6 separate regions of the Homo sapiens genome follow, and regions 1, 3, 4, 5 and 6 are each linked to region 2. The links are contacts of gene promoters, found by promoter capture Hi-C in blood cells and fetal thymus (Javierre and others, 2016). All regions are on one chromosome and are shown on one strand. Each heading gives the region's core, a stretch centred on a gene start or on the middle of the fragment in contact. The rest is flanking DNA. Distances are from core to core; before and after follow the strand shown. Region 1 has its middle 44 kb from the start of FAM85B. Region 2 holds the start of ERI1 (exoribonuclease 1). Region 3 overlaps PRAG1 (PEAK1 related, kinase-activating pseudokinase 1). Region 4 overlaps PRAG1 (PEAK1 related, kinase-activating pseudokinase 1). Region 5 overlaps PRAG1 (PEAK1 related, kinase-activating pseudokinase 1). Region 6 overlaps PRAG1 (PEAK1 related, kinase-activating pseudokinase 1).

Region 1 (3,737 bases), core at 851-3,350, 730 kb before region 2:
GTAGGTTTCAACCTCAGGCAAGTAGCAAGATGGCAGCTCTAAAAATTAGATTTAGGCACAGTGTGCAACAGGGAAAGAAGAGAAGCTCCCCCTTCTCACAGCTCTCTCCTAGGAGCGCATCCTAGATCTCTGGTACACGTCCCCTCAAGGTCCTGTTAGCCAAAAGTTGGTCATATGCTTGTTCCTGAAAGAGAAACTAGCCAAAGAAATGGGAGGCCCTCAAACAAACCAGAGCCATTGTACAGCAGAGAAGGAGGCATCTTGCTTCTGGGGTACAAGGCGGGTGGAGGTGGAGAACAAAACAGAATTGGGGTGCTATAGAGGGAAAAACAGGGTCGTGGATGCTGGGGAGGGTCTGCTATAGAGTGTGGGAAGGATTCAGTGGGAATTGCACATAAATTGCTTATTACTGTGTTGACTTATATAAATAATTAATCATTAGCTTGGTAAAAGGGCAAACCCAAAGGAAGCTTCTGCAGCTCTACAGGGACCAAAATAACTAGTTCATTGTCTCCACTTAGTGGCCTTTACTGTCACAATGCCCTGTGTACCTCCCCAAGAATGTCCCTTTCTATAGCAATAGGCCTGGCAGTTGATGGGTACCTAGAGGTTGGGGGTTCCACTTCAAAAGACCCCTAGTCAACCCTGTGGTGTGCTAAGGTCAAAATAAATCATAATCTGGTAGCTGTCCATCCCCCAGGGAACACATTTCAATGGAAGATGCCTGAATCTCCTTCAGATTGTTGCAGAGCTGATATTCCAGAAACCAGAGGGCCTCCTGGGCCCTTCAAGGTGTCTGAGGCCACCAACCCTATGGCTTTCTGCCTCTAGCTTCCCTCTTTTGAAAACATCCACACCACTCTGCATAGCTCCCTGCGACACCAAGAGCACCCGCCAAGGACCCAACAGGGGCTCCAGGAATTGATCCACTGTGACAATGAGCCCACTTTCCTTCTTTGAAATGCAGGCTCCAGAAATCTTTAGAGGCTTCTCCCAGGCAAACCTAGAGACATTCTAAAGGAGAAGGCCTGCTGGGAAAGGGGTCGGGGGCGGGTGTTAGTTCTGAGCCATTTTAGTTCTTCTAAATGTGGTCTGCATGACTTCTCAGTCATGGCCCCCTCTTTGGGTCTTGCCCGATACTCTCTCTCCGCGGTTCTCTTCTGCCTTGTTTTTCTAACCCATTTGGCACCTTACCTTACTTCCCATTCATTGTTTGGCTCCTGGGATTGCTGTCCCAGTTTGGAATGTTTATTTTGGCCCTGACTTTGCATTCTTCCAGGGACTTGGTTTTCAGTATTTACCTATCTGTACATTGCCCCATGACTCCCAGAGAGAAATACCTCCTTCCTCTGCCCCACCCTACCCACAGACTGAGTGTGTACTCTGGCCAGCCTCATCTGAGGCAGAGATAAGTCCATAATCGACAGTCATCCTTCCTTTCCTTCTACTTTGTGAAAGCTGCTGTTCCTTAAGTGTCTTGCAGAGGCAGGAGAGAGGTCATCGGAGTAAACCGATTCTATCCCCTATGGGAATTACTGGTACCCATTACCTACTTAACACTTCAGGTTATATCTTAAATATATGTTTGATTTTTAGAAGTCAGGAAATGTAACAATACAGAATGAATTATTTAATATTTGGGGTGCAAGAAGCCCCAAGCTGGTGTTAGTCGCTCCTTCCTGGGAGATGGAAACTCCTCACATCCACTGGGAGCTGTGTCTTGTCCCCACCTCTTTCCTTACTCAACTTCTGGATAAACAGATCCCATAAATGTTTAATTTTTTTTTCCAGTGGCTTTTGTGGTTGTCATAATGGGCATCAAAGGTATGGAAGAACATGGGTGCCCCATTTCTTGTGTGATTTGGGGGTTTGGGTAGTGAAATATACATTTGTTCTAACCAATGTTGCTTCTTTACTATTTCCTTTAAGTTGTTGCAAAAAGCTGGCATATGGAACTGCTGGCTTCGAATTCTGTCTTAAACATCCCTCCAATTATTACTTTTGTTTTCTCAGCTTCACTTAGTAGAAAAACTCCATAGAATGAAAGACATGGAGGGAAATAAAATTAGATTTAAGCAGGGCACGGTGGCTCATGCCTGTAATCCCTGCACTTTGGGAGGCTGAGACAGGTGGATCACTTGAGGCCAGGGGTTCGAGACCAGCCTGGCCAACATGGTGAAACCCTGTCTCTGCTAAAAATACAAAAGTTGGCCAGGCATAGTGGTGAGTGCCTGTAGTCCCAGCTATTCGGGAGGCTGAGGCAGGAGAACCGTTTGAACCCAGGAGGCAGAGGTTGCAGAGAGCTGAGATTGCACCAGTGCACTCCAGCCTGAGTGACAGAGTGAGACCCTACCTCAAAACAACAACAACAGCAACAACAAAATCAAAAACAAACAAAAAATAAATTAAAGAAAGGGATCAATTAGATTTTAAAGTAGAAAGTGACTGATGTCTTGAATTTCAGGTATCAATCCAGGTTCTGTTCCTTCCTTATACCTTGATGTAATGAACACTTATGAATTGCAGATAAGCAAAACCAGCTGCTAGGCATGGGGAATATTCACCTGCTTTATCTCTATGATAGATATTTTAAAATGTAATGAAACTATCAAGGTTAATAAACCAACTATCAAGGCCATTAACAGGTGACGTCTGGTTATATTCATGATCCACATGAACCTGAGTCAGAAATGCATATAAACTGTTGTTTGATTTTAGAGGCTCTAAGGGTAGGGAAACATCTAGAAATAACCATTTTTCTGTACTTCTCACCAAGTCTTTACAGAAAAAGTCACCCTAACTCCTAAACCCCCAAACAGGAGCCTTTGAAATTATTTATGCAGACAGTTCTCTCAATAATTGCCAAGCCCAGATCATTAGTAGTAATTACTCCAGTTGTTTTTATAAGGCTGATAAATAAAAGGTTTGAATCAACATATAAAACTTCCTAGAATGTACAAGATCTGTGAAACTCTTGTAACATAAAGGGATATAATGATACTACGGAAAATCAGCAAAGCAAACAGTCTCATTTTGGGATCTCATTTAGCGTCCACATACAAACAGGGACACTGTCATGACTATTCTCAGGAAACTTCCCCTGAGCCAGTGAACGATTTTCCAGTATCTGCTCAGGGCTACGGTCCAGTGATAACGGGTGACACATGAGGTAAGAGGTTTATGTCAGCGTCAAGTTGATATTGACAATAGTTTGCAAGTTTATTTCAATGAGGTGGACTTCGAGTTTGCGTATATGTACATTCTTTGGGTAGGATGTTCACTTTCCATCCTAGAATGATAATAATTTTGTTATCTCAAAAAATGGAATGATTTCTGGAACATTTATCTATTTACCATGGCAAAGCCAGGAAATGTGTCTATTAACATTCAAAATAAGAAGCATATTTGTAGCAAAAAAAAAAAAAAAAAACAGAAAAAAGTAGTGTTTCCTAAGTTGAATACCTTCCAAACATTTATGCGTTCTTTGTTTAATTTGAACCACTGACAATAGTTAGTCAAGTGCTATAGCCCTTTTTTAATTTTCTGTTTGAGAAGCATAGACTGAGAGGAGCCAAAAGTCTGAGAAATTCAAAATTACTATAAAACTGCCCCATTTTTCTTAATTAAAGAGTAGGCTAGTCTGATTCATAGAGACAGGCCTGAATTGGAGAACCCTGTATAAAAAACGCAATTTATGGCAGCACTTGACAGGGATAGGGGAATCAAATTAAAAGCTT
Region 2 (3,987 bases), core at 1,462-3,961:
AAGTCAAAGAAACAAAGTCAAAAGAGTTGTTTCTTGAGATAGAAGCTGAGATGGAGGTATGTATGGTTAGAAAGGGCTACTTAACCCCATCAAAGATTATTGTTATTGGAATTATGCCCTATCTCAATTGCCTATTTAACAAAGCAAATAATCTAGAATGGGCAAGACTTAAGACAATTATGATTGGTTACTAAGTGTTCACTTAACTTCCAAACTGGCATATCTTCTGAGTAGATGGATTCAGCACAACTTCAATTCTATGCTCCTGGGTTGCAATCCTCAAACTTGGACCAAATAAACTCTCTAGTTATATTAATTTTGCCTCAGCTTCTACCTTTTAGGTCAATAGTATTAAGCCTCTTCAAGTGGTCCTGAAGTATTAAGCCTCTTTAAGTGGTTACTGAAGCTGTATTCATCTTTTTTCTGTGTGTGTGTGTGTCATTTTGTATTGTTTCTGTTGCTATATCTTTGAATTTATTTACCTTTTTCTCTGCATTGCTTAATGCGCTAGCAATCCCATCCAAAGAAATTTTTATTTCAAATATTTTTCACCTCCATCCAGAAATTTGATTTTTCAAAAATCTTTCCAGTTTCTCTCCTATCATGTCTTCCTTTAAATCTTTGAGCATATTCATAACAGGTGTTTAAAATCCTTGTCTGTTAATTCCATCATTTTTATCATTTTGGGGTTTGTTTCTATGAACTTCGTGAGATATTTTCTTACCACTTGGTCTCTCTCTCTCTCTTTTGAGACAGAGTCTTACCCTGTCACCCAGGCTGGGTTGTGGTGGTGCAATCATAGGTCACTGCAGCCTCAAACTCCTGGGCTCAAGCAATCCTCCCGCCTCAGCATCCCCAAGTGCTGCGTGTCTTTCAATTTTTGACTGGATGTCTCACATTTTGAATTTAATGTTGTTGAATCCTGGATTTTACTGTAGTCTTTCAGAGAGTTTTAGAATTTGTTCTTACAGGTAATTAGGTTACTTACAGAGCAGTTTGATCCTTTCAGGGCTTGTTTTAAGGCTTTTGAAGAATCTACAGTAGTTTATGTTCTGGGTCCTGCAGTCTACGGTTATTATATCTCACTAAGGCATGACACTTTCGTAACCACCCAAAAGGTTCATCTTGCCTACTGCCTAGACAGAGTCGATTTATCAAGACAGGGGAATTGCAATAAAGAGCAATTCATGCAGAGCTGGCAGTGCAGGAGACCTGAGTTTTATTAATCAAATCAGTCTCCCTGAGCATTTGGGGATCAGAGTTTTTAAGGATAATTGGGTGGGTGAGAAGCCAGTGAGATGGGAGTGGTGACTGGTTGGGTAGGAGATGAAATCATAGGGAGTCGATGCTGTCCTCTTGCACTGAGTCAGTTCCTCCCGTGGGGGACACAAAATCAGATGAGCTAGTTTATCCAAGATCAGGTGAGTCAGTTTATCAATCTGGGAGGTGCCAGCTGATCCATCAAGTGCAGGGCCTGCAAAATATCTCAAGCACTGATCTTAGATTTTACAATAGTGATATTATCCCCAGGAGCAATTTGGAGAGGGTTAGAATCTTGTAGCCTTCAGCTGCATGAGTCCTAAATCATAATTTCTAATCTTTCGGCTAATTTACTAGTCCTACAAAAGCAGTCTAGTCTCAAGAAGAGGGTTTATTTTGAGAAAGGGCTATCACCTTTGTTTTAAACTATAAGCTATACACTAAGTTCCTCCCAGTGTTAGTTTGGCCTACGCCTAGGAATGAATAAGGATAGCCTGGAGGTTAAAAGCAAGATGGAGTTGGTTAGGTCTGATCTCTTTCACTGTCTCAATGATAATTTTGCAATGGCAGTTTCACATCTGAGGTTTCTATTGCGTGTTCCATGGTATTCAATAATCTCTTCACTCTGGTTGCTGGGAGCTCAAATGATTCCCAGTTCTGTGTGACCTCTCACCATTGTTTGGTGTACTGCTCCCCAGTAATTGTTCTTTCCTGGCCTTGTGGAGTTTCACGTTTTTTATTCAGTTAAAGATTCAAGGTACTCCTAAGCAGATTTCTGAAGCTCTTTTTCCATGTAATTCCCTCCTCTCCAGAATTCTGCCCTACAAATTCCAACCGACTTGGCCTACCCCAATTTCGTCAACTCCAATCTCTGTCTTTTCAACCCAGGAGATCCTAGGTTTCCATATGATTTCCTTTCATCGCACCACAGACTGGAAATCGCCTCTGGGCAAAAGGGCAGGATGATATACGGCTCCTTTTATTTCTTTTCTCTCAGGTAAAACAGTCCACAGCTGTCCGTTGTCCAATGTCTGAATAGGTGTCTCCTATATTTTGTTCCGTTTTCTAATTGTTTATAGTGGGACACTAAGTCCCGACCCATTTTCTTTTCTTGCCCAGAGTGGAAGTTTTAGGAAACTCCTTATGGAAAATGTGAATTGTTTTATTATTTTTTATGGTCGAAAACATCTTTCTCTATGATATCTTCCCACTCACCCTACTTTTTTCCTTCTCAGGAAACACTGACGGGAACACACGTGCCGGTGCTACCCTCCAGTGACTGGACTAGATCCTTGCGCAACTTCAACCCGCGCTAGCTCCGCCTACGGCCGGCCACGCCCCGTCTTCTCACCGGCGCGCCTCCCTCTTGTTCGTCCTCCCTCCCCCTGTGGACTGCGGCGCTGGCGTTCCGCGCACGCCGGCTCACTGCGCCTGCCCGGCGTGTGGACGCCACACGCTCCCGGAAGTGGGAGGTGGCCGCTGGAGTTTGTGTGGCCGCCGCCGCGGGAACGCGAGCCCGGTAATTTTTCAACGGAGAAAGGCGAGGCTTTCGGGCTCTGCAGAGTGAGAGTTAGCAAGTGTCCGGCTCCAGCAACTCTCCTCTGGCGTGACAGCCGGCATGGAGGATCCACAGAGTAAAGAGCCTGCCGGCGAGGCCGTGGCTCTCGCGCTGCTGGAGTCGCCGCGGCCGGAGGGCGGGGAGGAGCCGCCGCGTCCCAGTCCCGAGGTGAGGAGTCGACCCGCGCCTGGCTGTTGGCGCCAGCTGCCCCGTCCCCAAAGCGCCCTCGGCACCCCTTTCTTCTCAGGTGTCCCGCAGAAGGTGCAGCTGTGCGCCCTTGGACCCCAGCCTCTTCCTCGGTGCCCAGCTCCCTGGCTTTATCCTCGGGTGGGTGTCTTGGAGCCCCCTCAGGGCCGAATCACTCTCTGGGAGGGAGGAAATCGTCAAGACCAGTTCTGTCTACAGTGGGTTAACAGGTTCTAAGAGGGAGTTTTGCTTTAAACTTAATTCTGTGTTCACGGTTGCTGTTGTCACTCCATGTAGCCGTTATGGGTAGTTTGCAAGGCTTTATGTTTTTAAAATCTCACCATATACGCTAGGTATGTCACTTCATGCCTGTTTTTAAAAAAAGAAAAAATTTAAAAAGCACTCACCAGCATCCCTGTCTCTGTACCTGTTAAGTGGAGCTTCGTCTTAGCTGCTTTTGCTCATTAACTGGTGTCTCATATAACCATAGTATAAGATTGAATGAATCATTTTGACATCTCATCGGTTGAACTTAGTTACAGTGGCAAAGTTGTAGAACAGTCTTAAAACTTATTTAACGAATGTTAATTGTTGACTAGCGCTGCGGATTGTAAGTGATTGAATACTAAAATTGATCTTTTCCTAATAATAAACATGTTGAACACTTCGTAAAGCTTCATAAAGTGCGTATTTGCAAGAGGCCTCCTAACTCTTGCTCCTTCCGTCCACAGTCAGTTTCCATCTGGCAGCTAGAATGAGCTTTTCAATAACATGAATTTGGCTTATTCCCCTCCTGAGTCACTTCCATTTGCTGCTCTGCGGGGTCGGGTGCCTGCCTCCCTTGGTAATTGCATCTCACACAGTTTTTTCCCTTTTGTTCCCAGTGCCCCTCGCTGCCTTGTGTTCTTTGACATTGGAAAGAAGGTCTCGTTAAGGATCTCTGTATGTTCCTTTTGCCCTGTGTGCACTTCCTTTGGATCCTT
Region 3 (3,632 bases), core at 781-3,280, 620 kb before region 2:
CTTGGTGAAAGATTGATTTTAAATCACCAATCCCAAGCAGGGACCACAAGTAGGTTTGTTTGCTGGGTACAAAGAGGGCCACAACTCCTGCTCTCCGAGGGCTGCACTGGGACCCTGGGAAATTTACATAAAGGCACAAGGGCCTTTGGGCAGATTCTGGGACCTGGGCCTGAAAGCTTTGATGAGGGCAAAGGTTTCTTCTGGAAGAGCCCTTTGCCCTGCAGACAGAGTCCCAGGCAGACAATGGTACTCACCGCGACTTTGGAGGCGGAGGAGGAGGTGAGAATGTCTCAATCCCACTTCTGTCCTTGGGGAACTCAAAGGCAAAAGAGGCGGATTTGCTCATCCCGGTCCCAACTTTGCTGTTCTGCCCAGAGGAGCCATCTGTGGGGTGGAGACGGTGCCAGGTCGTGGAGTTTGAATGGTCCGTGGGGCCATTTTTGGTCTCTCTTCCCCAGCTGTGACTCAGCAATTCCTGCTCCACCTCCTCTTCTTCCTCTATCCGGCACTGACGACTCCAGGTGCCTGCCTGGAACCTGGGCCGCCTCTGTTCCGAGGCTGACGAGGCGGCAGGCTGGGGACACCTGGATGGGTCACTGATAGCGACACCGTTGGTCCGGCAGGAAGGAGCGGGGTCAGCAGGACCTTGGGATGGAGGCTGGGGCCCAATGCTGCTGCCGCCAGAGCTCCCATCACTAAGGTCAGCCAGCGGTGACACTGGGGGCCCTCCAGCAGACGGTGACACCGGGGACCCTACAGGGCTACTCTTGGACAACTTGGGGGGAATGGCGGGCCTCTCCTTGGGCTTGCTCTCGCTGGCACTGTGAGCATGGCTTTCCCTGGAGCTCAGCCCCTGCCCAGCCGAAGTCTCCTCTTCACCTACCTCGGAGTTCTGGCTCACAGGCCCTCGTGGCCACTGCACCCCCACTGCAGAGTCAGGGCTGCTCAGGTAGATCGTCCGATGGTCCTCTTCCGGGTGGGCCGCCATGACTGTGATGGTGGCTGACACCTGGGGAGTTGGGTCTGGGCTGTCCCGGCCCCAGCCAGATGCTGCTTTCTGGGCCCAGGCATTACCTGTGCATACCTGGCCTTGGCCCTGGGCAGCAGCTGCATGTTCTATCTTGGCCTGTGACTTGGAAGGCACCGGAGCTGCCTTCTTCCTCTTGGTGCTCTCAGCATAGATGGGTTCAGGCTGTGTAGCCTCCCGGGGGTGGGCCGGGGGCTGGGGCTCCCCCGTCAGCCCAAGGCATCTGCTAGGGGTCACCCCTGGGCAGCCAGGGTCCTGCTGCTTCTCTGGGGCAGGTTCCTTCATGAGGGAGCAGTAATCACTCTCGAGGTGGGGGACGAAGGGGCTACTGGCGCCGCTGCCGCTGCCGCTGCCGCTGCCACAAGAGAGGCCGTCGGAAGAAATGGCAGCCTCCGAGGTGAGGGACAGTTTCTTGGGGCCCAGGCAGGATGGGTGGGCAGTGGGGCCCTGGCTACAGCACTCCTTGGGGAAGCTCGGGCCCCGCTTCTCCTGCTCTGCGGGCCCGGAACACTTCCCCTGCTCCCAGCACGTGGGTGAGCAGTCCCTGCCACCATGCCTGCCCCGGGAACCTGCAGTCTGGGAGGCAGCCTTGGCAACAGGGCTCCCAGGGCAGCAGTCCAGGATGGAGCAGTACTCTCCACCCTCGCTGTCCCCGGAGGGCGAGCACCTTTGATCACTGTCATCCTCCGAGGGCAGGGATTCCCGCAGGGGCCCAGGGCCCTGGTGACAGCCAGATGTGGTCCCAGCAAAGGCAGCCAGTTTCTGGCGGAAGCTCTCCTGGGTGGAGGGCCGGTCTTGGTAAGGAAATGAGGGTTTTTCTTTGTGCACAGCCTTCTCCTCCGGGAAGCTCACCGGGTGGAAGGCAATGTTCCTCTCGCCGCGGGGCTCAAGGTTGTGCAGGCCGACCATGGTGTAAGCTGGGGGACAGCGAGAATTGCCATCAGGGGAGGTAGAGGGACCAGCAGGCTTCTGTACACCTCGGAAGCTGCCCAGGTAGACGACGGGGGCATCCTCCTGCTTCGGGAGGGGGAGCTTGCCAGGGGCTCGTCTCCAGATGACCTACACACAAGCCCAACGCAAAAAGACTTATATTAGAACTTGTCATAGAAAAAAGAGAGAGAGGAAAAGTGAGAGGGAAGGGCAACGATACTGTAGAATGTCTTCTGTAGTGCAGTGCAGGGGCGCTGGGGCCGGGGACTCAGTGCACGCCCACCTTCTCATCTCCCCACGGCCCTGTGATCATTGCTGGGGCACCCGCTGAGCCATTTGTCTTCCCAGACACTGAGCTGCCCTTCCTACCCATGGACTGTAATGCTTTTGGCTTAAGTCTGTGAAGTAGGAAAAGAAAAATATAACTCTGAAAAAGAACACTGTGCCTTCTTCCTCCCTTGCAACCAGCTGCTGGGTGACACAAGTTGTTCCACTGGATTGGAAAATGGAGCTTGGGGTTTTGTTTAATTTTTGCTTTGAGTTTGTGGGTTTTTTGATAACCCAATCACAGTGCATGCCTGAAGAAATCGAAGTCTTAAGTGTTTTTAAAACACACTGAACACACTGGAGCCAGATGCCGTGGCTCATACCTGTAATCCCAGCACTATGGTGGGCCGAGGAGGGCAGATTGCTTGAGCCCAGGAGTTCAAGACGAGCCTGGGCAACATGGCCAAATCCCATCTCTACAAAAAAATACAAAAACTTGGTGGGCGTGGTGGTGTGTACCTACAGTCCCAGCTACTTGGGAGGTTGAGGTGGAAGGATGTCTTGAGCCCAGGAGGCGGAGGTTGCAGTGACCCAAATCACACCACCACACTCCAGCCTGGGCGACAATGCCAGACCCTGTACCAAAAATAATGATAATTAATAATAATAATAATAAAGAAAAAAGAAACACATTGGGTGGGTGGGTGTGGGCAGAACAGGAGGGTGAGGGGTGGTTTCTGAACCGGATCAGGGTGAGGGGTGGTTTCTGAACCAGATCAGAGTGAGGGGTAGTTTCTGAACTGGATCAGGGTGAGGGGTGGCTTCTGAACCGGATCAGAGTGAGGGGTGGTTTCTGAACTGGATCAGGGTGAGGGGTGGCTTCTGAACTGGATCAGAGTGAGGGGTGTTTTCTGAGCTGGATCAGGGTGAGGGGTGGCTTCTGAACTGGACCTGGGCTTCCTCGCTTCTTTCTGTGCTTTGCTTCCAACTATGCCAGAGGTCATCTTTCTCCCGCCTACAGCAGTGACCTCAGCCTGAGCCTGTGCGAGTGGTTGGACTCGTTGGGCTATGAGACAGAGATGTGGACTGGTCATTACCATCCCTGAAGTCACCGTTTCCTCCTCCTTCTGGTCTAAAGTCCTCCTTTACCCCCACTTTTAGAAGCAGCCTCAAAGCAGGGCCTGCCTCTGGCTTCTTTCCCAGGTGATTCTGAGCTTAAAGAGTCCCTGGCTCAGGTTGGTGAAGGTTGAAGGTATTGAGAATGGCCTGGAGAATGGGTGTAAGCAGCTTAGGAAAAAACAGAGCAGCCCGGAAGGGGACATCAAGTTCACTGCAACCAAAGGAAATGCCTCTCCTCAATGAAGACTCCCCTGATTTAGAATTGACCTTAGTTTTCATATATGCTCAC
Region 4 (3,603 bases), core at 340-2,839, 690 kb before region 2:
TTCAATGTCTTCAAACAAAGAATCCTTGACAAATTTCCTTCAGAACCAAGCACTGGGCAAAAATTTCTTCCTTCTGACGAACTGTTTCCTAAAATTGCACACAAAAAAGAATTCTGCAACCAGTTTTCTTTTTATAGGTTGGTGGACAGCTCAGAAGTAAGTTTTATGTTTAATTGCTCTTATTCCTCTCATTCAGAATTTATTGCTATTGTTTCTTCTTTATCCTTTATTTTTTGGTTCATGTTGGTTCTTAGAACAGTTTTTACAACCTCATTTTTTTTTTCTGAAGTGGGTGGTATAAAAAAGTTGCAATTAATTCAGGAATTAAAAATGTGGCTCCTAAGACATTTCTTTCTTTCTTTCTTTCTCTCTCCTTCTTTCTTTCTTTCCCTTTCTTTTTTTCTCTTTCTTTCTCTTTTTTCCTTTATTTCTTTCTTTTTCTTTCTTTTCTTTTCTTCTCTTTCTTCTTTTTTTTGATAGAGTCTCACTCTTGTTACCCAAGCTGGAATGCAGTGGTATGATCTTGGCTCACCGTAACCTCCACCTCCTGGGTTCAAGTGATTCTCCTGCTTCAGCCTCCTGAGTAGCTGGGATTACAGGCATGCACACCCACCTAATTTTTGTATTTTTAGTAGAGACAGGGTTTCTCCATGTTGGCCAGGCTGGTCTCAAGCTCCTGACCTTAGGTGATTGACATGTCTTGGCCTCCCAAATTGCTGGGATTACAGGCATGAGCCACCACGCTGGGCCTTATTTTCTAATGGCACTGCATTCCCCTGTCAGAATATTTGCTCCTCCCTCTCCATTGTTTATTTACTTGAAGTGAAAAAGGACAAAAAAGCAAAAGACAGCAAATTGATGGCAGAAGGTTTGCCTGGAAAATTCCGAGGGACAAAGAAAGAACTGGCAAATAATGCCCCCCCGAAACAGATAGGTCCTGGGGAGAAATATGATTTCCACGTTTGCAGACTCCTTCTCTTGTACAAACGGGTTGGGAGCTGGTTTTGGTTCAGTTCTTTCCTCAATGCTCAGGAAACAATTGAAATTACAAATGCGCCCCAGGTGCTGTCTTCACCAACGATGCATGGAAAGATGAATGTGTTTACATGTAGTCAGGGGCTGGAAGGTGGAACTCACAAAAGGATTGAAATTAATATGCAGAAGAGGACCTGGGAGAGTTCCCTATCCTTCCTGCTAAGTGCATCCCCAGGTTTCTAAAACATCCATTCAGATCTTTGTATTTGTTTTAATTTGTCCAGAGTTATTCACAAGGTTTTAGAAATCAATTAGTTCTGTAGTTGGAAGATTACCCATTAGGTAGAAATACAAGAGTCTTGGGGCTATTTCTCTTCAAATAGGTAATTTTTGACTTTCGTGCCTGTGTCTAGTTTTGAGGAGGAAAGATCTGATGCCTCCTAATTTTCCTTGTGTGTTTTTAAAGGCATAGTAACAAACATTGACTCCAGTAAGCTGTAGGTGCCAATGGGTGCGTTAAATGAGGTTTTAGAAAAGGAGACTTGAAGGAGGCCCGAACAGCAGAGGGAGTACTGGCCTGGGAGTTGAAACACCTGAATTCTATGCTTGCCCTGCCAGTATCTAGTACGGTAGGAACAGTGGGCCGTTTGCCACCTGGCGTCCCATGCATTCTCTCCCTCCTCCCTGCCCCAGGAGGCTGATCCTCCAGACTGCATCACCCAAGGTCCCTTGCTGTCTGGCATCCTATTAGGTTGGAGATGACAGATGGGAAACAGAGACTCCCATCTCCGGCTGTAGAGATCTCAGCGCGAATACCTCCTGTATGTTCCCCTGTCCTGCTGTTCTGGCCCTTGCTTTTGGCCTTGTCACCCTTTGTTCTCATAACCCTGATCACACCTAGCTAAGTGGTCCCCTTAAGTTCTTTTCATCTGAGCCATCTGGGGTGGACTCTGTTTTCAGGCACGTCTCTGAATTTTACAAATGGCAACCAGCTTTAGCAAACTGGAAATGGGTTTGAATTCCAAACCACTGGGATCACAGCGGCTGTGTCTGGATTCTTTCCAGAAGGCTGCCAGGTGGGAAGAGAAACAGGGAAGATGAATTGGTACCCACTTGCCTGGTCCTTTGCAGACTGCTGCTCTATCTCCTGAAAAGCGTTAAGACCAAAGACAGCTCCGTTTTACCCACCAAACATATTAATACACTCAGGCACTTAAGGATAAAGAGCTTTGCTCATGACTCAACCAAAAAAAATTTTAATGGAATTTTCTTCTTTTTTTTTTTTCTTTAAATAACAATTTGACAAAAGGGTGAAGAAATCCTAAACAAGGTATTGAGGCCAGTGTCCAGGCTGCATTCAGTTCACAGAACTGTCCTCAGGACGTTGCATGGAACTGGAAATGTGTATAATTACAGAAGAAAACAGGGAGGACTTAGTGCAGAGAGGAGACGAGTGTGGACGGGCAACAGCATCCTTAGTCTTTCATATTTATATATGGTATATGTATTTTCTATATATATATTTATATATTTTACATCCAGGTATCCCAGTCATCTGTACCATTTCCCAGGGAGACATGGGTGCTTCCAAGGCGAGACAGGAAAGGGTTAGGCAGGGAAGGGGCAGCGACGGTGCAGGCTGGGGCTTGGCTCACAGAAGCTGCAGGAGCTTCAGCGACTGTAAGAGGGCCCCGGGCTCCGCAGACGCCAGGTACTGGCAGCAAAGCCAGTCCTCCAGCTCCACGCCCCGCCTGCGATCCACCGCCTTCTCCGCAAACTTCATCATCATCAGGGCCCGCTTCATGTCGATCCAGTTGTGCAGCGTGCCGCACAGCGCCTCCTCCGAGGTGCCCGGCTGCTGCACCAGCTCGCGCCGAGGCCCCCACAGCAGGCACTGCAGCACGCGCTTGGCCTCGCCGATGCGGATACGCTTGATGGGGTCGGCCTCCAGTAGCAGATGTGCCAGCTGCTGCAGGCCGGGTGAGTAGAGGGACAGCGCGGGCAGCGGCGGCAGGTCCTCCTGCCGGTAGTCTCTCTCCCGCAGCTGGGCGCGCACCTCGAACGGGTTGGGTTGGTGCAGCAGCTCGTAGATGAGGATGCCTGTCTGGAACTCATCGAACTTGCGGTACTGGGAAGCAGACACGATCTCGGGGGCCAGCCGGGCCTGGCTCTTCTTCTGCTGCAGGTTTGGGGTGCCGCCCGGCTTCTGCTTGGCCTTCAAAAAGTTGCTGATGATGAGCCGGGGCAGCTGCTTCTCCCGGGGCCCTTCCGGGGAGGCGGGGCCGGCTGCGGGGCTGAGAGTGCCACCAGCAGGCGGGGCGGCAGAGGAGCAGGGAGGCGCGGCGGCGGCGGGGGCGGGAGCCGGGGCGGGGGCGGGGGCGGGCCCGGGGCCGGCCTGGAGGGTGCAGTGCACCAGCAGCAGGTTCTCCAGGCACAGGTCCCGGTGGATGATCCCGTGCTCCTTCAGGTGCTCCAGCCCGTTGCAGAGTTGCAGAAGCAGGAAGCACACGCGCCGCTCGTACGCCTCGGGCTCCGCCTGGTGGCTGGCCGCCGAGTCCCGCACGAAGTCGGAGGCGGTCTGATGTGGCACCTCTCGGGTGATGACCACCACGCAGTCCTGCTCCTGGG
Region 5 (3,916 bases), core at 535-3,034, 670 kb before region 2:
CAAGTGAGAATATCTATATGAACTGTATTTTCAGACTTCTTATCTATTGCTGGTGCCAATGGTTTCAGTTCAACAGAGAACTCTCTAATCTTCTCTAATCTCCAGGCATTCAGAAATGTTTGCCGAACTGCTGAACTGAATTTTAATGGTATCCTACATCAAAGAGGGAAATGATCTCAATGAGACATTAGGTTTGCAAATTTACAAGTAACCACTTAAAGCAAAAAGGTCTCTTGATGACCATTTCTGATCATCATTTCCCTCACACGTCCAACCATCCATTCCCTGCAAAAACCTTCCCCTTGGCAGCCTTCATGGATCTGTCCTGACACATGCAGTCTGTACCTCCTAAACCAAGCATAAACCAAACAACTGCTTCGACAAATTTTCCTTGCACTGAGTTGACTGGCTGTTCAATTGAATTGGACAAATGGGATAACAGATGCACTGGAGGAATATGTAATCTGATACAAGTATAAAGAGGTGAAATTAACATTGATACAAAAGTGGCATTTTGCCACTGTAACATTTAGAATAAGCACCTGTTTTAAAAATGTAACAAAGTAAGAGATTTCGATTAGGTTTTCCTTATACAACTAAAACCTCCCCCCACCCATAAAACGCAAATCATTAACTTCAGCCATTGACTCTGATAAAAGTATAAAAAGGTGAAATTAACATTGACACAAAAGTGGCATTTTGCCACTGAAACATTTAGAATAAACACCTGTTTTAAAAATGTAACAAAGTTAGAGATTTCTATTAGGGTTTTCCTTATACAACTAAAACCTTCCCCCCACTCCCCTCCCCACACCCCTTTCCCCCCTCCCCCCACCTCCGACATAAAGCATGAATCACTAACTTTAGCCATTAACGCTGATACATTTCCAAGAAGTTTACACAAACTACTATCATGATATGCCCTGGAATGACTTTTTCCTCCATTCATTCAGGCCAGCCTATACTGTGGATGGAAAAAGTCAATGAAACGCATAGTTTTCACTAGCAGATTCTTACTGACAAAATAAATGTAGAAGAGTCTAATGGTATCTTTTGGCTTAATGTATAATATTAGAAAGGCAGACACTACATTCAAGTTTCAAAGAACTTCAGCGTGAACTAGTTCTTTTTCTATTTGGATCTAATCTCTCAGCTTTGGTACTGCATGCCAAACAGTAACTAAAGTTGCAATGGATAAATATTTCAGTTACAAGATAAAAGTGAGTTAAGGACCCATGGGACTGGAAGATAATTGTGCAATAACAAATCTAAGCTGCCTTGGTAAGCGGTGAGAAGTGAATGAAGGATTTCTCATATTACATGACCAGTAGTTCTGTATATTCTCCAGATTAATGATTAATGTTTAAAAGATGTCAAAAAGAAGAGAGAGAGAGAGAGAAAGAGAGAGAGAGAGAAAGAATGTCATGCCTTTGGTCTCTTGCCAGTTTCAAAACATGGTTCCGGGTACAGAGAGCCATGTCCAGGGGCAGCAGATAGAATGGTTGGCTCTCAGGGGCTAGAGTCCAGGGACAAGGTACATATCTTCTTGTTGGTCTGGGAGTCTAAGTTTTGAAATGCATTTCTACTGAACAACTAGCTTGTGATAAAGGAATACCACGACAATATATTCATTTTAATTCATGTTATTCAGAAACGAACATGAGAAAACGTCTGAATAGGTTTCCCCGTTGAACTCGCAAACCTCCAGCATTGAACTCACAAACCTCCGGCAGCTCTCTGTCTCCCACCTGCACAGATTGCTGTGAGAGCCGTGTACAATTCAGCCCCTGCTTCCCACCAAGCTCATGTCCCATTTCCCCTTGCCGGTGTCTATTGAAGCATGTCAGACTGGTCTCATCCTTCTCCCACATGCACTGCCATCCCTGTGGCTTTGTTTCTCTTTTATTGTTCTCTAAACCTGGAAAGCCCTCTCCTCCTCACCCCCTACCTCCCCAGTTCTGGCCACATTTCAGATCTGATCTCTAAGTCCCATGTTCTCATAAAGTCTTCCCTAAACCCTCCACCAGCCTTCATTGATTTCTGTCTCTTCTGGAAGCCTTTATAAGAAGCACTCATGTTCTGGGCTGCCCAATATCCTACCATATCCCATCCACCCATGTACCATGTGTTTTAACCTTATCTTTCCTAGTCAGTTCTTAGGAACCCTGCGAGTGGACGTCATGGTTTACTGGTTCTGGGAAACAAAGTGGTGAAGCCATGAAGTCCAGTTCGCCTGACACCCGCTGGTTGGTGACTGATGGTTCATTGTAGATCACTCCCCAGAACTGGTTACAATCTCCAAGAGAGTGGATCAGAGCTAACCAGCACAGGGGCTCGTGGTCGAGATGCACTGCCCTCTATGGAATAATCTGCCTTGTTGAATTTGTTATACAATGGGCTGGGAAAAGGAAGAAGATAAGAGCCTAGAAAAATCTACAGAAAAAGAAAATCTGTTGTTGCTACATTCCTCCCAAATCAAGACTAAGATATTTCCTGTTTTTAAGTAAGAACTGTCAGAGGTTTCTCATCAGAACACACCACAGACTGACTTATAACACACTCTTTTGTCTCAGCCAGTACCTATTGTTTAGGTAGAATAATGTTGCTGACAGTAAATTTGCAATGGAACCCTCTACTGTGTCATTGCCTATTGAGAAGAAATATTTCCATAGGACTGAAAAAGGAAGTCATGTGAGTACAAGTCTAAATCCAACATGCTAACGCAAGTCTAAGAGAAACGCAGGAGAGGACACATACACAAAGAATGCTGAAAGGGTGAGAGGTTTTAAATATGACCCATCCAGGCCACAACTATGGAAAAACAAGAGTTCCTTTTTAGGGACATGCCCAGTGGAGGACAGACCCACCCATAGGCCTTAGAGCTTAATCCAAAAAGCAGGCTAGATGGTGGCCTAATGTAGTCTTCATGCTTAATTCAGCAAACATTATGTAAACATCTGCTGTGTCCAGTAAGTGTGTACATGTGGGTACATGCACATGTAGATGCAAAAGAGAGAGAGAGAGAGAGAGAGAAAGAGATAGTGAGAATGTGTGGTTTAGGACCCATCCTGAGGACAGAAGTAAAAAGCAGGCCTGTACACAGATGGCTCATTACCCAAGGAAATAGGAGCCTTTCAACCTCATCTTCCTCCCACCATGTTGCCACGTCCACACTCTTATAATTTGGAGAGGGCAATATGGATGGGCTGGCTTGCCATATATTCAGTAGATAATTGACTTCAACAGCTCCCTGGAAGAGTCTACTTCATTGAGAAAGCAGGACCAAGACAGTAGTCCTTGCTCAGCCCTTCCAATCCCGCAAGCAACGCAGGACTGGTCTTGAAGGTCCAGGAGAATCTAAGCCTCTCCGTCAATGTCAAGTTTGTTACCTCCATCGCTGCAGGTCCTAGAGTCTGAGGCCAGGCTGTCCGTGGAGCCGGTGGTGAAGCTGACGTGGACACCCCTGAAGGATGGGCTGAGGCTTTCTGCAGAGCCCTGGCTCACTTTTTCCAAATCAGAGCTGCTCTTGTTCATTTTTAGAAGGTGCCTGGAAAAGGTAGGAACAAACAATACAAATAACTCATTGGATTTCCATTCAGAAACCAGGCTGATGGATCATGAACTTACCATGCTCTTGAAACCTGGCCAATGTCAGCAAGTTTATTAAAAGAAAAAAAAAAGATTTTGGGGAGACAGTAGAGGTTCTCTTCTGAGTTCTTATGTGCATGAATGACAGGAGACTTCCAGAGTGTGGTTAGGAGAAGCGAGTCTATTAAATTTAAACAAGCACCAAAATTCTTACATGGAAGGAATTGCCTTCATATTCTGACCCCATCTGCCAAAACAGTTGTGTCACTTATTATATCCTGTGTAAAATCTCTACAAAGAAAAATAAAGATATTATCATACACACCAA
Region 6 (3,521 bases), core at 746-3,245, 640 kb before region 2:
AAAAATGAAAGTGGACCCTTGCCTAATATTGTATACAAAAATTATCTAAAAATGGGTAAGAGACCTAAACTTAAGACCTAAAACTATAAAATTCCTCGTGGAAAACAAAAAGAAAAAAACTTAATGACATTGGATTTGGCAATGATTTCTTGGATATGACAACAAAAGCAAAGACAACAAAAGCAAAAATAGATAAACTGGACTACATGGGAATAAAAACATGTTGTGCATCAAAGGACATAATCAATAGAGTGAAAAGGCAACACATGGATTGGGAGAATATATTTCAAATCCTACATCTGATAAGCGGTTAATATCCAAAATAAACAAACAACACTTAAAACTCAACAACAAGAAACCAAACAATCCAATTAAAAACTGGTCAAAGAACTTAAATTTGTCAAAAAACAAAACAAAACAAAAACCCACAAGGGCCAGTAAGCACATAAAAAGATACTCAACATCTTTAATCATTTGGAAAACACAAATCAAAAGCACAATGAGACAACAACTCATCCCATTAGGATGGGTACTATAAAAAACAAAAACAAAACAAGTTTTGAAGACACATGTGGAGAAATTGGAACCCTTGTGCACTGTCAGTGGGAATACAAAATGGTGCAGCTGCTATGGAAAACAGTAAGGCAGTTCCTCAAAAAATTAGAAATAGAATCACCAAATGAGCCAACAATTCCACTTTGTGGTATATATTTCAAAGAACTGAAAACAGGGTCTCTAACAGATATTTGCTTACCTGTGTTCATAGCAGTATTATTCACAGTAGCCAAAATGTAGAAGCAACTTAAGTATCCATTAACAGACGAATGAATAAACACAATATGGTTCTGTGAATGTATGGGAAAAACAAATTCAGTTCCTCCTATACTGTCACAATACAAAATACTTCTGTGACCTCAGATCTTGTTAGTTGTCCACCCCAACACCATGCAAGCAATCAATTCTGCAGCAAACACCAGCTGGTTGCTACCAAATTCAATTCAATTCTGACACTATCTACCTAGAGGTAGAGTCAGATCCCACAGGTTGAGGGTTCAGTTTCAGAAGACTTCCCCCTACTTCCAATGCCAATCCAAAGCCCAGGTTGTTTTATCTGTGCTTCTGATCAATCAATTATAAATTGGGGCTCCCATAATCTCCTCCTTGGGTTCAATTAATTTGTTAGAGCTGCACATAGAACTCAGGGAAATGCTTACAAGTTTATTATAAAGTATATCACAAAGGATACAGAAGAAGAGAAGCATGGGCAAGGCGTGTGGGAAGGGGCATGATGCTTCCATGCCCTCTCTGACAAACCACCCTCAAGGAAACCCCAGAGGTTCTGCTATTCAGAAACTCTCTGAACTCTGTCCTCTTAGGTTTTTATGGAGGCCTCATTACATAGTCATGATTAATTAAAGCATCAGCCATTAGTGATCAACTTAACCTTCAGCCTCTCTCCCCAACCCTGTGGGTTGGAGTGGGACTGAAAGTCTCAACCCTCTAATCTTGTCTTGGTTTTTCAGGTGACCAACTCCCCTACTGAAGTGACCAAGGGGCTGCCAGCCCTCAGTCAATTCATAAGCATACAAAAAGACACATCATTTCTGTTGGAAAGGAATGCTTATTCCTTGGTGCTACAAAGAAGAATCAGCATTCAGACAAAAAGTTTTCTCAGCAAGACAATTTTACTTTCTGCAGAAAGGGTGCTGCCCATCAGCAATCCTGCCACGAGAGCACACTGAACAAAGAGACACAGGAATATTTATCCCTTATGGGTGAAGTCCCTATTGCTTTGTCCTACCTCCACTGGCTGGAGCTGGACCTCACAGTCTAAGCTTAGCCCAATTGGCTAACAATCTAAAACTTTCCTAAATAGGTAAAGACAGTGCTAAACAAAGGAAAAGAGGAAGTTGCTTACATAAAGGCTTATAGAAGCAATAACATTTCCAAATAAGGAAGGGATATAAGCTGTGACCTGGGACATGCCTGAGCAAGCCAAAACTCATATTGTAGTTAAAGTATATGTATATATAAAATGCTTATCCTTTTACACTTAATGACTATGTAAGGTTTAATGAAGAGTTATTGTTAAAAGCTAGTCTTTAAGATAAACTATTAGTTCTAACACTTATGATTTATTCCTTAATAAAAAAGGTAAGCTTGAAGAGGAACTTTTTACTTTTCACAATTCCCTCCTCTTATTTTTTTATAGTTTTTCCTCTTCAAACTGTTTTAATATTTCTTGGCTTAATTGCTCTGATTGAATTTCTAAAAGGAGAATTTTTTCTGAATAAGGTGGAGGAGAGTTAAGATGGGTTTTAGTAAGAGTTGTTTTTGTTAATCTTATTACTAATTCCCAGATGCATGGTATAATACAACACCCAAGAAGAAGGAGTATGCCTATTACAGTTGCTATAGAAGTAAGAATTGAGGCTACAGTTTCTTTCTATTGACCGGACCATCCTTCTAGCCAATTAGAAATAGCATTAGGTACAACAGGATGAGTCGTCTAGACTATCTGATTGATAGCTCTAAGGTCTTGCACTAATCAGTATGACCCGTCTGATTACTTGACTGGTAAAATTGGAGTATTGGATGAGGACATACAAGGTTTGAGCAGCCCATCTTTAATAAGTCCTTCAATTACAGGCTTTAACCCTATTCTTCCTTATAAAGGAATACGGTATTGCTTTCTCCTTACTACCTCCCCTGGAGTTTTTAACCAAATATGTATTGGAGGAATTCGTAGCTTTCCTCAGTTTCCTTGACCAGACATCTGGATGTATGTATTTTTCATCTATCGCAGTTAACAAATTTAAAGAGGTTAGAAAACCTTTTGGACCAACTTGCAAACCTATACCTAATTTATCATTAAATCCCTTACTAACAAATTGGTTCCTGCTTCAGGAATTAATAAAAATTGTATACAAGTCGATTGATCTTGATATTTAACTTCCATATTTTCTAAAATTTTTGCCTTAAATCCTTCTCCTTTGACCCTGGAAACTGTCAATTCCTCTGAGGAACGAGCTAAATCAGCTGGAGGAAAACCAACAGATGAGTGAGCAGCTCCTGAGTCAATCAAAAAGGTGATTAATTCATGTTTGGGTCCCACCTCTAAATTTATCAAGGGCTCTTGGTGGGACTCGAAATAGAAAAGACAGAGCCCCTGACCCCTCTATTCTTCTTCAGAAGTAGTCACAAATGGGAGAGCTTCCTCTGCTTTTTCCAATTCAGGACATTCGTTCTTAAAATGACCTGGCCTCCCACATCTGTAACATCTGTCTTGCCCTCCCTGTCTTCCAAGCCCAGGGCCCCTTTTCTTCTTCTCTTTATTTTCATATCCACAGCCCCTATGGCACTTACTTTTACCTTCTCCTCTAAAATACTGACCTTGCCTTCATTCTCTCTGCATTCCTGAATTACCAAAATTTCTCCTCTTGCCTCCTCTAGAAAATCCTACAGGTGTGGGTCTAGACTTAGCCCCCTACATCATCTGTCCTGGTGAATTCTGCCAAAAG

The links. The method cuts DNA at HindIII sites, captures the fragments that hold promoters and counts their contacts. A CHiCAGO score of 5 or more calls a contact.
Region 1: a fragment that was not itself captured here is called in contact with the fragment with the promoter of ERI1 in region 2 in 5 of 17 cell types (total B cells, naive CD8 T cells, naive B cells and 2 more); the score reaches 12.6 in total B cells.
Region 3: a fragment that was not itself captured here is called in contact with the fragment with the promoter of ERI1 in region 2 in 3 of 17 cell types (M2 macrophages, naive CD8 T cells and M0 macrophages); the score reaches 7.4 in M2 macrophages.
Region 4: a contact is called between a fragment that was not itself captured here and the fragment with the promoter of ERI1 in region 2, in 1 of 17 cell types (activated CD4 T cells). The highest score is 5.1, in activated CD4 T cells.
Region 5: a contact is called between a fragment that was not itself captured here and the fragment with the promoter of ERI1 in region 2, in 6 of 17 cell types (M0 macrophages, naive B cells, total CD4 T cells and 3 more). The highest score is 7.1, in M0 macrophages.
Region 6: a fragment that was not itself captured here is called in contact with the fragment with the promoter of ERI1 in region 2 in 1 of 17 cell types (total B cells); the score reaches 5.5 in total B cells.

The regions. Positions count from the first base shown.
Region 1 is chr8:8,269,269-8,273,005 of GRCh38, forward strand. No RefSeq gene overlaps it. Among named protein-coding and RNA genes, the nearest start is that of FAM85B, 44 kb to the left of the region's middle. RefSeq lists a silencer at 1,119-1,413. The HindIII fragment of the contact is 3,264 bases long and covers 469-3,732 here.
Region 2 is chr8:9,000,186-9,004,172 of GRCh38, forward strand. It overlaps ERI1 (exoribonuclease 1), which reads left to right and starts at 2,712. Exons shown (of 7, transcript NM_153332.4): 1 at 2,712-2,986. The coding sequence starts at 2,879. It overlaps LOC105379227 (a long non-coding RNA gene), which reads right to left and starts at 2,557. Exons shown (of 3, transcript XR_002956680.2): 1 at 2,476-2,557. The HindIII fragment of the contact is 5,155 bases long and covers 1-3,676 here.
Region 3 is chr8:8,375,993-8,379,624 of GRCh38, forward strand. PRAG1 (PEAK1 related, kinase-activating pseudokinase 1) reads right to left here. Exons shown (of 6, transcript NM_001080826.3): 3 at 255-2,086. Among named protein-coding and RNA genes, the nearest start is that of PRAG1, 8.6 kb to the right of the region's middle. RefSeq lists an enhancer at 93-1,032. The HindIII fragment of the contact is 3,713 bases long and covers 175-3,632 here.
Region 4 is chr8:8,315,528-8,319,130 of GRCh38, forward strand. PRAG1 (PEAK1 related, kinase-activating pseudokinase 1) reads right to left here. Exons shown (of 6, transcript NM_001080826.3): 6 at 2,209-3,603. The coding sequence ends at 2,627. Among named protein-coding and RNA genes, the nearest start is that of PRAG1, 69 kb to the right of the region's middle. The HindIII fragment of the contact is 7,469 bases long and covers 1-3,603 here.
Region 5 is chr8:8,336,089-8,340,004 of GRCh38, forward strand. PRAG1 (PEAK1 related, kinase-activating pseudokinase 1) reads right to left here. Exons shown (of 6, transcript NM_001080826.3): 4 at 3,390-3,547. Among named protein-coding and RNA genes, the nearest start is that of PRAG1, 48 kb to the right of the region's middle. The HindIII fragment of the contact is 4,489 bases long and covers 1-3,916 here.
Region 6 is chr8:8,356,985-8,360,505 of GRCh38, forward strand. The region is part of intron 3 of PRAG1 (PEAK1 related, kinase-activating pseudokinase 1); the gene reads right to left. Among named protein-coding and RNA genes, the nearest start is that of PRAG1, 28 kb to the right of the region's middle. The HindIII fragment of the contact is 324 bases long and covers 1,834-2,157 here.